2 separate regions of the Homo sapiens genome follow, and region 1 is linked to region 2. The links are contacts of gene promoters, found by promoter capture Hi-C in blood cells and fetal thymus (Javierre and others, 2016). All regions are on one chromosome and are shown on one strand. Each heading gives the region's core, a stretch centred on a gene start or on the middle of the fragment in contact. The rest is flanking DNA. Distances are from core to core; before and after follow the strand shown. Region 1 holds the start of ALAS1 (5'-aminolevulinate synthase 1). Region 2 holds the start of TUSC2 (tumor suppressor 2, mitochondrial calcium regulator).

Region 1 (5,096 bases), core at 1,155-3,654, 1.9 Mb before region 2:
GGTTTCACCATGTGGCCAGGCTGGTCTCGAACTCCTGGCCTCAGGTGATCAAACCACCTCGGCCTCCCAAAGCGCTGGGATTACAGGAGTGAGCCACTGCACACAGCCAAGATAAATTTGTTTTTAAAAATCACTAATAAATACTGTACAATTTCACTTATATGAGGTACCTAGAATAGTCAAATTCATAGAGACAGAAAGCAGAATGGTGGTTGTCAGGGGTTGGGGAGAGAGGAATGGAGAGTTACTGTTTGATGGGTATAGAATTTCAGTTTGGGAAGATGAAAAAAGTTCTGGAGATGGATGGTGGTGGTGACACAACAATATGAATGTACCACTGAACTGCACATTTTTAAGTGCTTAAAATGGTAATTTTTCTTGGGCATTTTACCACAACAGAACAAAAACTTTTAAGAAAAAAAAAATCACTACTTTAAAAAGCCAAAGGGGCCGGGCACGGTGGCTCACGCCTGCAATCCCAGCACTCTGGGAGGCTGAGGCAGGTGGATCATTTGAGGTCAGGAGTTTGAGACCAGCCGGACCAACAAGGTGAAACCCTACTAAAAGTACAAAAATTATCTGGGCGTGGTGGTGCATGCCTGTAATTCCAGATACTTGGAAGGCTGAGGCAGGAGAATCACTTGAACCTGGGAGGTGGAGGTTGCAGTAAGCCGAGACTGCATCACTGCACTCCAACCTGGGCGACAGAGCAAGACTCAGTCTCAAAAAAGAAAAATTAAATAAATAAAAAGCCGAAGGCCAAATGTTTAATGAGGGAAATTAGAAGGCTAAATGTTTAATGAGGGAAATTAGAACATTCCAATTTAATATTTATGTGAACGAGGCACTGAGGAAACACTAAAACCCCTATAGACACTAACGTGCAATCCAAAAACCTGTAATGTGCAACACTGGCCACTGTTTCACCTTTAAAGATGGAAAAGCTAAAAGTGCCTACCCTTGGGGGGACAATCATATGAGATAATCTGTGCTCAGAGCCCAGCCTGCACATAGCAGCCCTCTGTGAGTGAGTGTGACCCTCACCACCACTGTGGGGACTGCTTCTAGTCTACCAATGAGCACAAACACCCATACCTGCTCCTTCATTGTCAATGACACTTACTCTCACTGGCCGGAGGGGTTTCTTTGATCTGTTGGTAGTGTACTGCTGCAGTGGACAATGCCCGAGGGGCTGGCTTGGCCCCAACTTCCATCATCTTGGGGCAGTTTTGGGCATAGAACAACAGAGATTTGCCTGCTTTCTGCAGAAAGGCCTGGGGGACTCGGGATAAGAATGGGCAGCGGCGAACAACACTCTCCATGTTCAGGAAGTATGCTGGCTCCTGTGGAAAGACTGATGAAGAGTGACATCAACAGTTGTTAATAATCAGGCAAATATCACTGCAAGCTCACTGGATTCAGGTGTCAACCGCAGTTTATATAAAGGGTACCCTGGAATACTAACACTTCTCCCTCAAAAATGCCTAAGGACAGCACTGATGTGAGCTAAGGAATGGTGACCACACTTTACCCGGGTCACCAACTTCTTCATTCTCCAGCGCTACACAAAGGCACCTGCAAAGCAACTTCACCAAATGAATACTGACAGTACATAATCAAGGGGGCGGAAGGATGAGGGAAAGGTCAAGAACAGGTTTGGGAGGCCAGAGGTTTCTTAGGGAGATGCACAGTGCAGATAAGACATCTTGGCTTACATCTAGGTGGAGAAGAAGCCACTCATCCATCCAGGCAGGGAAGACTCTTAGGGATCCTGACTTTCTCCTGGTCCCCACATCCCCTAAACCCGAGGAAGGGGTCCAGCAGGGTCCCGAGTCCCTGAAGCAAGGATTCCTCCGTGGTCGTGTCCCCACAGCGGGAAGAACTGGGCATAACTGAGAAAGGAGGGGCACAAATGAGGGTAGGGGTATGAGGGCCAGCGCCTTGGGCCTCACTGGGGACGCGCAGGGGCTTATAAAGTCGAGGGAGTTGAGTCTGGAGAAAGAAGGCAGTCCTCCGGCAGTGGGGGTCAGAGGTGACCCGCGGTCGAGGTCTCGAGAATGACGGGAGGGGTATGAGAAGGGAATTCTAAAGCGGCGGGTTCAACCGGGAATAGCCGGAAGGGGCCGAAAGGGGGAAACTGAGGCGGCCGTCTAGGCAAAAGATCTGGAGGATAAACGCTGACCTCAAGGCGGCGGGTGACTGGGACAGTGGGGGATGGGGTCCCAGCACCCGGGGCAGCGGTGCCACGGCTGGCAGGACACCCCGGGGCTTCCTCGGCCGGCGCCGCACCTACCGCGCGGGCCCTCACCTGCGCTGAGGACTGCAGAGGCGGCGGCGAAGGAGGCGGGCACTCAAGTCGAGAAGTCCAAACGAAACGCTCGTTGCCCTTGTCCGGGAGCAGCCTCAGGCCGCGATCGCCGGCGCCTTAATATACAGCGGGAGTGACCGCTGCGCATGCGCCTTGGGCGCTGCCTTCTTCTGCGCAGGCGCGCCGCGTAGCCCTCGGCGAGCCGGGGGGGCGGGGCAGAGAGGCCCACTTCTTGGGCTCTGCGGATATCGGTGCTGCCGGGGATTCCCCGGCTCGCCTGCAGGGAGGAGGAAGCGCTAGGCGGTGGGCGGACGAGGTCTCTTTTCCCGACCTCATCCTGCACCCTCGTGCTGCCTCCCCACCAACTACCCTGGGCTTCAGAACCCTACGCCCCAATTGAGTATAAAATGGCAAGGTCGAGGCGAGGTGCCGCTAGGGCCAAGTTGGGGGCTACAGGGTTGTTAAGCTGGGTGTCTTGGACATGGAGGAAGAAGGAGATCCAAGGGGTTCTGGGCCGGGGTGTTAAGCAGGATCCATCCCGCCTGCGGCTTGCTTTGGAAACTGTGAACAAGGGCTTCCCGGAGGAGGTGGAGCTGGCTATATCGCCCACAAATGGAGTGGTCCTGGCAGGATGCGGAAGAAGCGGGACACTCAGCTGTGGCACTTTCTGGTCTAAGATGATCCAGAGGGGACAGAGGAACAGGGCTAGGGTGGAACCCATCCACTCCACAGCTCTGAGCACTTGGGGAGGAGGGGAAGGCACAGGGCCTGACAATAGTTAGCGTGTAACAAATATTAGCCACTATTTTTATTTTCCATCCAGGGTTGTCTGAAGCCCCTTGCTGGCCACCCTGGGCACCAGCAGGGTGGCTTAGGCCTCCATGCCAAAGGTCAGCGTTGGGCCATACCTCCATTGAGTTTCCCGGGTACAACACATAAAGTGTAGGGCTTGGCAAACCCGTCTCAGGAATGTCAGTCTGGCTTCCTTGCCCCACACCCTTCCCAGCTTGGCTTGGGCTGTGTTGGGCTGGGCCTGTGCCAGGCTCAGAGGTACTCTCCTCCATTCTTGAGGAAAGGGCCTTTGAGGGTATTCCTTTCCCAGCTGAGCATTAACAAGAGGGACAAAGTCCAGAATGATGGTGACCAGGGTGTGTCCAGGTACTTTGCATTTCTGTCTCTGAGCACCCAGCTGGCTGCAAGGCAGGTGAGGTGAGTCTCCACCTTCAGAGGAGGCACCTGGGTTCAGAGTGGCAGTGGGACCAGTCCAGGATGAGGGCTTTGGTCTGAGAGCTCGAGACCCAGTTCTGTGCCATTCAGCCAAGAGATCCTGGGCAGTGCCCATCACCCAGAGAAGATGAGAGAGAAAAGGTCAGCACTTGGACTTGGACCCAAGTGCAGCTGGAAGTGGGAACAGAATAAGGATGATATTGAGTGCTTTGCTCATCTTTGGGCCTTGCTTTCCTTATCTGGGCAATAGGATCATAATCCCTGAAATGCCTGCCTCACAGGTTGTTTTTGTTGTTGTTGTTATTTTGTTTGTTTGTTTGAGACAGAGTCTCCCTCTGTTGCCCAGGCCGGAGTGCAGTGGCACAATCTCGGCTCACTGCAACCTCTGCCTCCCAGGTTCAAGCGATTCTTCTGCCTCAGCCTCCTGAGCAGCTGGGATTACACCACCACGCCCAGCTAATTTTTGTATTTTTAGTAGAGATGGGGTTTCACCATGATGGCCAGGCTGGTCTTGAACTCCTGACCTCAAGTGATCACCCTCAGCTTCCCAAAGTTCTGGGATTATAGGCTTGAGCCACTGCGCCTGGCCCTCATAGGGTTTTTTTGGGGGTGATCAGAGCCAAAGCCAAAGCAGAAAGAACTGGATAGTGGAGTTGGGCATGGGTTTCAAACCCAGCTCTGAATCTTACTTGGCCATAGACTTGGGCAGGCCACAACCTCTTCAAGGCTTGGTTTCCTGATTTGTAAAGCTCTCCCGCCCTGCCACTTGTGGCTGGCAGGAGGGTCAGGTGAAGTCCTGTATTTCAGAGGCTTATTGTTTAAACCAGCCAGTCCCTAGCCCTCTGGGAGTTTCCTGTTTAATATAGAGAAAGATTGGGAAACAAGGCCGACTCACATGGAAAGTGAAATAGAGTGTTGTAAGCAACTCCAGATGGAGGAAGAGGAGGAGGCTATTACTCCAACAGGCGCTGAAAGAGGAGGATCCCAACCACGAGGAAGGCTTCCAGAAGAGAAGCGGGTGCTGGTTGGAAGGGTGGATCTACATGCGACTGGGAGACTGTGGGTGAAGCCTTGGATGGAAAAGGCTCAGCCCTGTGGGGGTGGCGGTTGGGGGGTCAGCGTGAGTCAGCCCAAATAGCTGGGCAACGGGAGTATGGTCAGGACCTGACGCCAAGAGGTCAGACCAGAAAGGCCCTAAATGAGCCACGGGGTTTCCCAGTGTCAGGGCCCAAAGAACCACCCCCAGGGTACCGGTCAAAATGCAGATTCCTGTGCCACACACCTTTGATTTTGACCCAGAAATCTGCATTTTAACCAGCTCCCCTTTCTGATGAGGTAAGGGTGAGGTATCTTGGAATATGTTTCTTGAGTGGTTCAAGGTTTGAGACCTTGAAGAGCAAGGCATAAGCCATGAGTTCTAGTCCTAACTCTGAGATCTTGAGCAAATTGCCTCATGCCTTAAATCTTAGTTTTTGTGTCTGTGAAATGAGAATGACCCCATCTGCCTCAGTGATGAGTCTGGGTGGGCACTATTCTGCTCCAGTTGTGATCCTTCGGGGCC
Region 2 (4,719 bases), core at 803-3,302:
GTGAAAATCTTGGAGACCCTGCAAACAGAACAGGGTCATGTTTGCAGGGGTGACGGCCCTCATCTATGAGGAAAGGTTTTGGATCTTGAATGTGGTCTCAGGATATCCTTATCAGAGCTAAGGGTGGGTGCTCAGAATAAGGCAGGCATTGAGGAAGAGTCTTGGTTTCTCTCTACAGTGCCAACTCCTCACACACCCTGAGGTCAGGGAGTGCTGGCTCACAGTACAGCATGTGCCTTAATGCTTCATATGAGGAGGATGTCCCTGGGCCAGGGTCTGTGTGAATGTGGGCACTGGCCCAGGTTCATACCTTATTTGCTAATCAAAGCCAGGGTCTCTCCCTCAGGTGTTTTTTATGAAGTGCGTGAATGTATGTAATGTGTGGTGGCCTCAGCTGAATGCCTCCTGTGGGGAAAGGGGTTGGGGTGACAGTCATCATCAGGGCCTGGGGCCTGAGAGAATTGGCTCAATAAAGATTTCAAGATCCTCCTGCTGTTGGAATCTTTTATACATATAAAGTTTTTGTAGAGACATGAGTCTCTCTGTGTTGCCCAGGATCCTCCCAACTTGGCCTCCCAAAGTGTTGGGATTACAGGTGTGAGCCACCCTGCCCAGCCTGGACTCTTTATTATTATAGGCGCAGAGCTGCAGTTGCCCCTCATGGTGCCAGAAGTTGCCAAGGGTGATGGACAGGCTCCCAGGTGTCTTGCAAAGTCACCATGGACCAATTTGTGAAGATGTAGTATGCATACATACTTGGTCATCACTCAGCTCCCTGGGGCTCAGGTTGTGGTGGAGACAAAAATGGACTGCAGTTAGAACTTAGGGAAACTGGCTGGGCATAGTGGCTCACACCTGTAATCCCAACACTTTGGTTGGGCTAGGTGGGCAGATCACTTGAGGCCAGGAGTTCGAGGCCAGCCTGGCCAGCATGGCGAAACCCCATCTCTACCAAAAATACAAAAAAAATTTAGCTGGGCGTGGTGGTGGGCGCTTGTAGTCCCAGCTACTCAGAAGGCTGAGGCAGGAGAATCGCTTGAACCCGGCAGGCAGAGGTTGCAGTGAGTGGAGATCACACCACTGCACTCCGATAGAGCAAGACTCCAACTCAAAAAAAAAAAAAACGGCCGGGCGCAGTGGCTCAGGCCTGTAATCCCAGCACTTTGGGAGGCCAAGGCGGGTGGATCACCTGAGGTCCGGAGTTCAAGACTGCCTGACCAACATGGTGAAACCCCGTCTCTACTAGAAATACAAAAAAATTAGCCGGCATGGTGGCAGATGCCTGTAATCCCAAGTACTCGGGAGGCTGAGGCAGGAGAATCGCTTGAACCCTGGAGGCAGAGGCTGCAGTGAGCCGAGATCGTGCCACTGCACATTATCCTGGGCGACAAGAGTGAAACTCCATCTCAAAAAAAAAAAAAAACAAAACCATCCCTTCAACACACACACACCACGCTCTGGGAGAAGGTGTGGCATAACTCCTTCACCAAATACAGAGCTGCCACCGTGGACCAGACACTGCTCGTGATACCGAGGGTATAGCTGTTAACAATTCTTGCTTTCATTAAGCATGGACTCTGCTGGGTTTGAAAACACTGAATTCGAAGTTCTTCAGAACTGAATGTAACTATGTGAATCTGGCCAGTTCCTTAATTTTCTTTCAACTTGGTTAGTTCACATAAGCGTGGCAATCGCAAAAATACAGCTGTGAAAATAGAAGCCAGATGGGCACCCGGCGGTCTGGCCTTAGGCCCTGAAGTGCAGGTTTGAGGATTGGTGCTTGCGAAGTCCTGCTAGGCCTGAACTCAGGTGTTGGGGGACGTCAGAGCCGCCAAATACACCCAAAAGACCGGGAGGACTCACGGCCACCACTTTCCTCGGTGGGAGCTGTCCCAGCTGGTCAGATCGCGCTTGCTGGGACCTGGGATCTCGCAACGCATGCTGGGATGCCCAGCATCTAAGGGCGCCCATTGGTCCCGCCCCCACGACTTGAGCAACAGCCAATCAGAGGTGGCAGCGTGCGGAAGCGGAAGTGAGGTTTCCGTGGAGACAGCCGAGCCTGCGGAAGGCGGCGGCGGCGGCACCTGCGATCAGCGGCTGGGGCAGGTTATGGTAGTGCGGACTGCGGTGTGAGCAGAGCGGCCACGGGGCCCGCCATGCGCCGGCGGCCCTGACATGGGCGCCAGCGGGTCCAAAGCTCGGGGCCTGTGGCCCTTCGCCTCGGCGGCCGGAGGCGGCGGCTCAGAGGCAGCAGGAGCTGAGCAAGCTTTGGTGCGGCCTCGGGGCCGAGCTGTGCCCCCCTTCGTATTCACGCGCCGCGGGTAAGGGCATGGGTTCCACCCTGGCGGGGGGAACAGGCGGGCGGCCAGGCGTCCCGCGCCACGGGGGAACTTCCACCGCTGTACCCCACTACAGCCAAGCCAGGACGACCCCCATATTTTGAGCCTCATTGGAGCTGGGGGTGGAGAAAGCCGGGCAGTGGTCTCCTGGCGGCCTGGCCACTCTGAAAGTCTCCCTAGGGAAGAGTGGGCCTGAGGCTTGTCACTGGTCGGACCTTCCGCACGGTAAAGCTAAGCTAGGGCCTCCATAAGACCTCCATAAGATCTCTTCCTTTCATCCCTTCCGGCTCAGCCTGCATACTGAAGGGTCCTAGCCTCCCTTTCCCCCCCAGTTATTCCAAGGGGATAATAACCCTCTGTTTAGGCTGCTTTTCCTGACAGTAGTGGGGCTGAACCTTTGAGCGTAGTGGCTGGGAAAGCAGGGATAGGCCTCAGTATTGGGGGTGAGGCTGAGGAAAAAAGACCCTCACCCAGTTATGTTCTCCAGATCCAGAGCGCTGACCTACCCACCCAACCCCCAGCCCAGTCTCCCAGAGGCCCGCACAAGAGTACCAGATTGGCTTGGCTCTAGTGGGCTCCTGGAGATGGGCGCTCCCTGTGCTAGAGATTTGGCTGTAGACACCAGGAAGACCCAACAGTGGCAATTCACCAGCCACCTGGGGTGTGGGGTCAGGGGAGACGCAGCCTTCATTCCTTTGTGCTTCTTCCTAGCTTAGGCTTCTGCTATTTCAGTCTTTGACACTGGGCCAGCAGCATCTTCTGGAGTGAGACCAACATGCCCAGGCCACCACCCTGCCCACTCTAGAAGTCCTGGGTGAAGGCAAAGTCCTGATATTAGAATGGCTGCCCTTGCTGAACAAATCAAGGATGAGAACTGGCCTTGGTGGCTGCCTGGATGGTGTGCTCTGGTGTGGGCTCTCTTCTTGGGGGTCTGACATAGTAGCACTGCCCACCCATCACCTCACTTCCCACTTTCTTCTAGTAGACCCCAAACCCCAGGCAAAGGATTCTCCAGGCAGGCCAGGCACCGTGGCTCACGCCTGTAATCCTAACACTTTGGGAGATGAAGACGAGTGGATTGCCTGAGTTCAGGAGTTCGAGACCAGCCAGAGCAACATGGCAAAACCCCGTCTCTACTAAAATACAAAAAATTAGCAGGGTGTGGTGGTGCATGTCTGTAGTCCCAGCTACTTGGGAGGCTGAGGCAGGAGAATTGCTTGAACCCAGGAGGCAGAGGTTGCAGCAAGCTGAGATCGCGCCACTGCACCTCCAGCCTGGGCAACAGAGTGAGATTCTGTCTCGAAAAATTTTTTTTAAAAAAAGGATTCTCCAGGCATATTATCCTCTTTTCTTCCCACTTGGGGTTGGGAAGACCACAGACTTCCCCGTGACCTGTGACATTTGCCATGCCCAGGTGTGGGGCTCCAGCCCAGCCTGTTTCCTTCTCCCTCTACACAGCTCTATGTTCTATGATGAGGATGGGGATCTGGCTCACGAGTTCTATGAGGAGACAATCGTCACCAAGAACGGGCAGAAGCGGGCCAAGCTGAGGCGAGTGCATAAGAATCTGATTCCTCAGGTGAGGGGCTGGGCAGCGGTCACAGAGCCTACACTAAGCGTGTGGAGGTGGACCCAGATGGGATCTGTTGTCATGGTGGGGGCTTTTGCGGGGGGATCTGGGAGGAACAAGGAAGCTTCCTGAAGTAGAGGCCCTGAGCTGACCCTTACTAGCCTCTGTTTCCATGGCAGGGCATCGTGAAGCTGGATCACCCCCGCATCCACGTGGATTTCCCTGTGATCCTCTATGAGGTGTGACCCTGGGAGGTGGCAGACAGAAGCACCCCCTGCCCCGGCAAGAAACTCCCAGGCTCAATCAAGGTGTGGCTTCCATTGAGGAGCCCAGGCTGGGGCCACAACCCTGAATAAACTCTGTTGGCCCATAACCTTCAGCTGTGAGCGGGTCGGTCCCACAGTATTGGTTGGGTGTTGGTTTGTGTGTGGACAAGAGGTGGTTGGTGGGTGGTGAAGGCTAATGGCAGAGTTAGCACCCCACTCTCCCAAGCCACCCCTGCAAGCAGCACAGCAGGGCATATACCAGTCAGGAATGCCCGTTACCTGGTTCCTTGCCTGGTCTGCTTTCTTCCAAGTTTGCCTGGGGCCTAGCCCTGCTAGAGGCTACAGCACTTTACAAGCAAGGTATGCTTTCTTCCAGCCCCTAGGCTGTGGGCACTGTATACAAGTAGGAACTTCCTTTCCTTCACTTCCCTTTTAACCCCTAGTCAGAGCATTTCAGCCGTTTGCTACCTCGATTCCTCCTGTGTTGGACAGAGGCTGGGGGCAGTGCCAGCCTGATTCTTCCGACCTACCTGCCATTTGTTCC

The links. The method cuts DNA at HindIII sites, captures the fragments that hold promoters and counts their contacts. A CHiCAGO score of 5 or more calls a contact.
Region 1: a contact is called between the fragment with the promoter of ALAS1 here and the fragment with the promoter of TUSC2 in region 2, in 2 of 17 cell types (non-activated CD4 T cells and neutrophils). The highest score is 6.2, in non-activated CD4 T cells.

Annotation. Positions count from the first base shown.
Region 1 is chr3:52,195,468-52,200,563 of GRCh38, reverse strand. ALAS1 (5'-aminolevulinate synthase 1) reads right to left here and starts at 2,404. Exons shown (of 12, transcript NM_000688.6): 1 at 2,309-2,404; 2 at 1,716-1,892; 3 at 1,124-1,354. The coding sequence starts at 1,322. RefSeq lists silencers at 2,163-2,242, 2,353-2,422 and enhancers at 2,563-2,782, 2,793-2,862. The HindIII fragment of the contact is 12,746 bases long and covers 1-5,096 here.
Region 2 is chr3:50,325,556-50,330,274 of GRCh38, reverse strand. It overlaps TUSC2 (tumor suppressor 2, mitochondrial calcium regulator), which reads left to right and starts at 2,052. Exons shown (of 3, transcript NM_007275.3): 1 at 2,052-2,321; 2 at 3,798-3,918; 3 at 4,089-4,719. The coding sequence starts at 2,176. The coding sequence ends at 4,154. It overlaps RASSF1 (Ras association domain family member 1), which reads left to right. Exons shown (of 6, transcript NM_007182.5): 6 at 1-487. RefSeq lists an enhancer at 1,808-1,917. The HindIII fragment of the contact is 3,021 bases long and covers 1-2,268 here.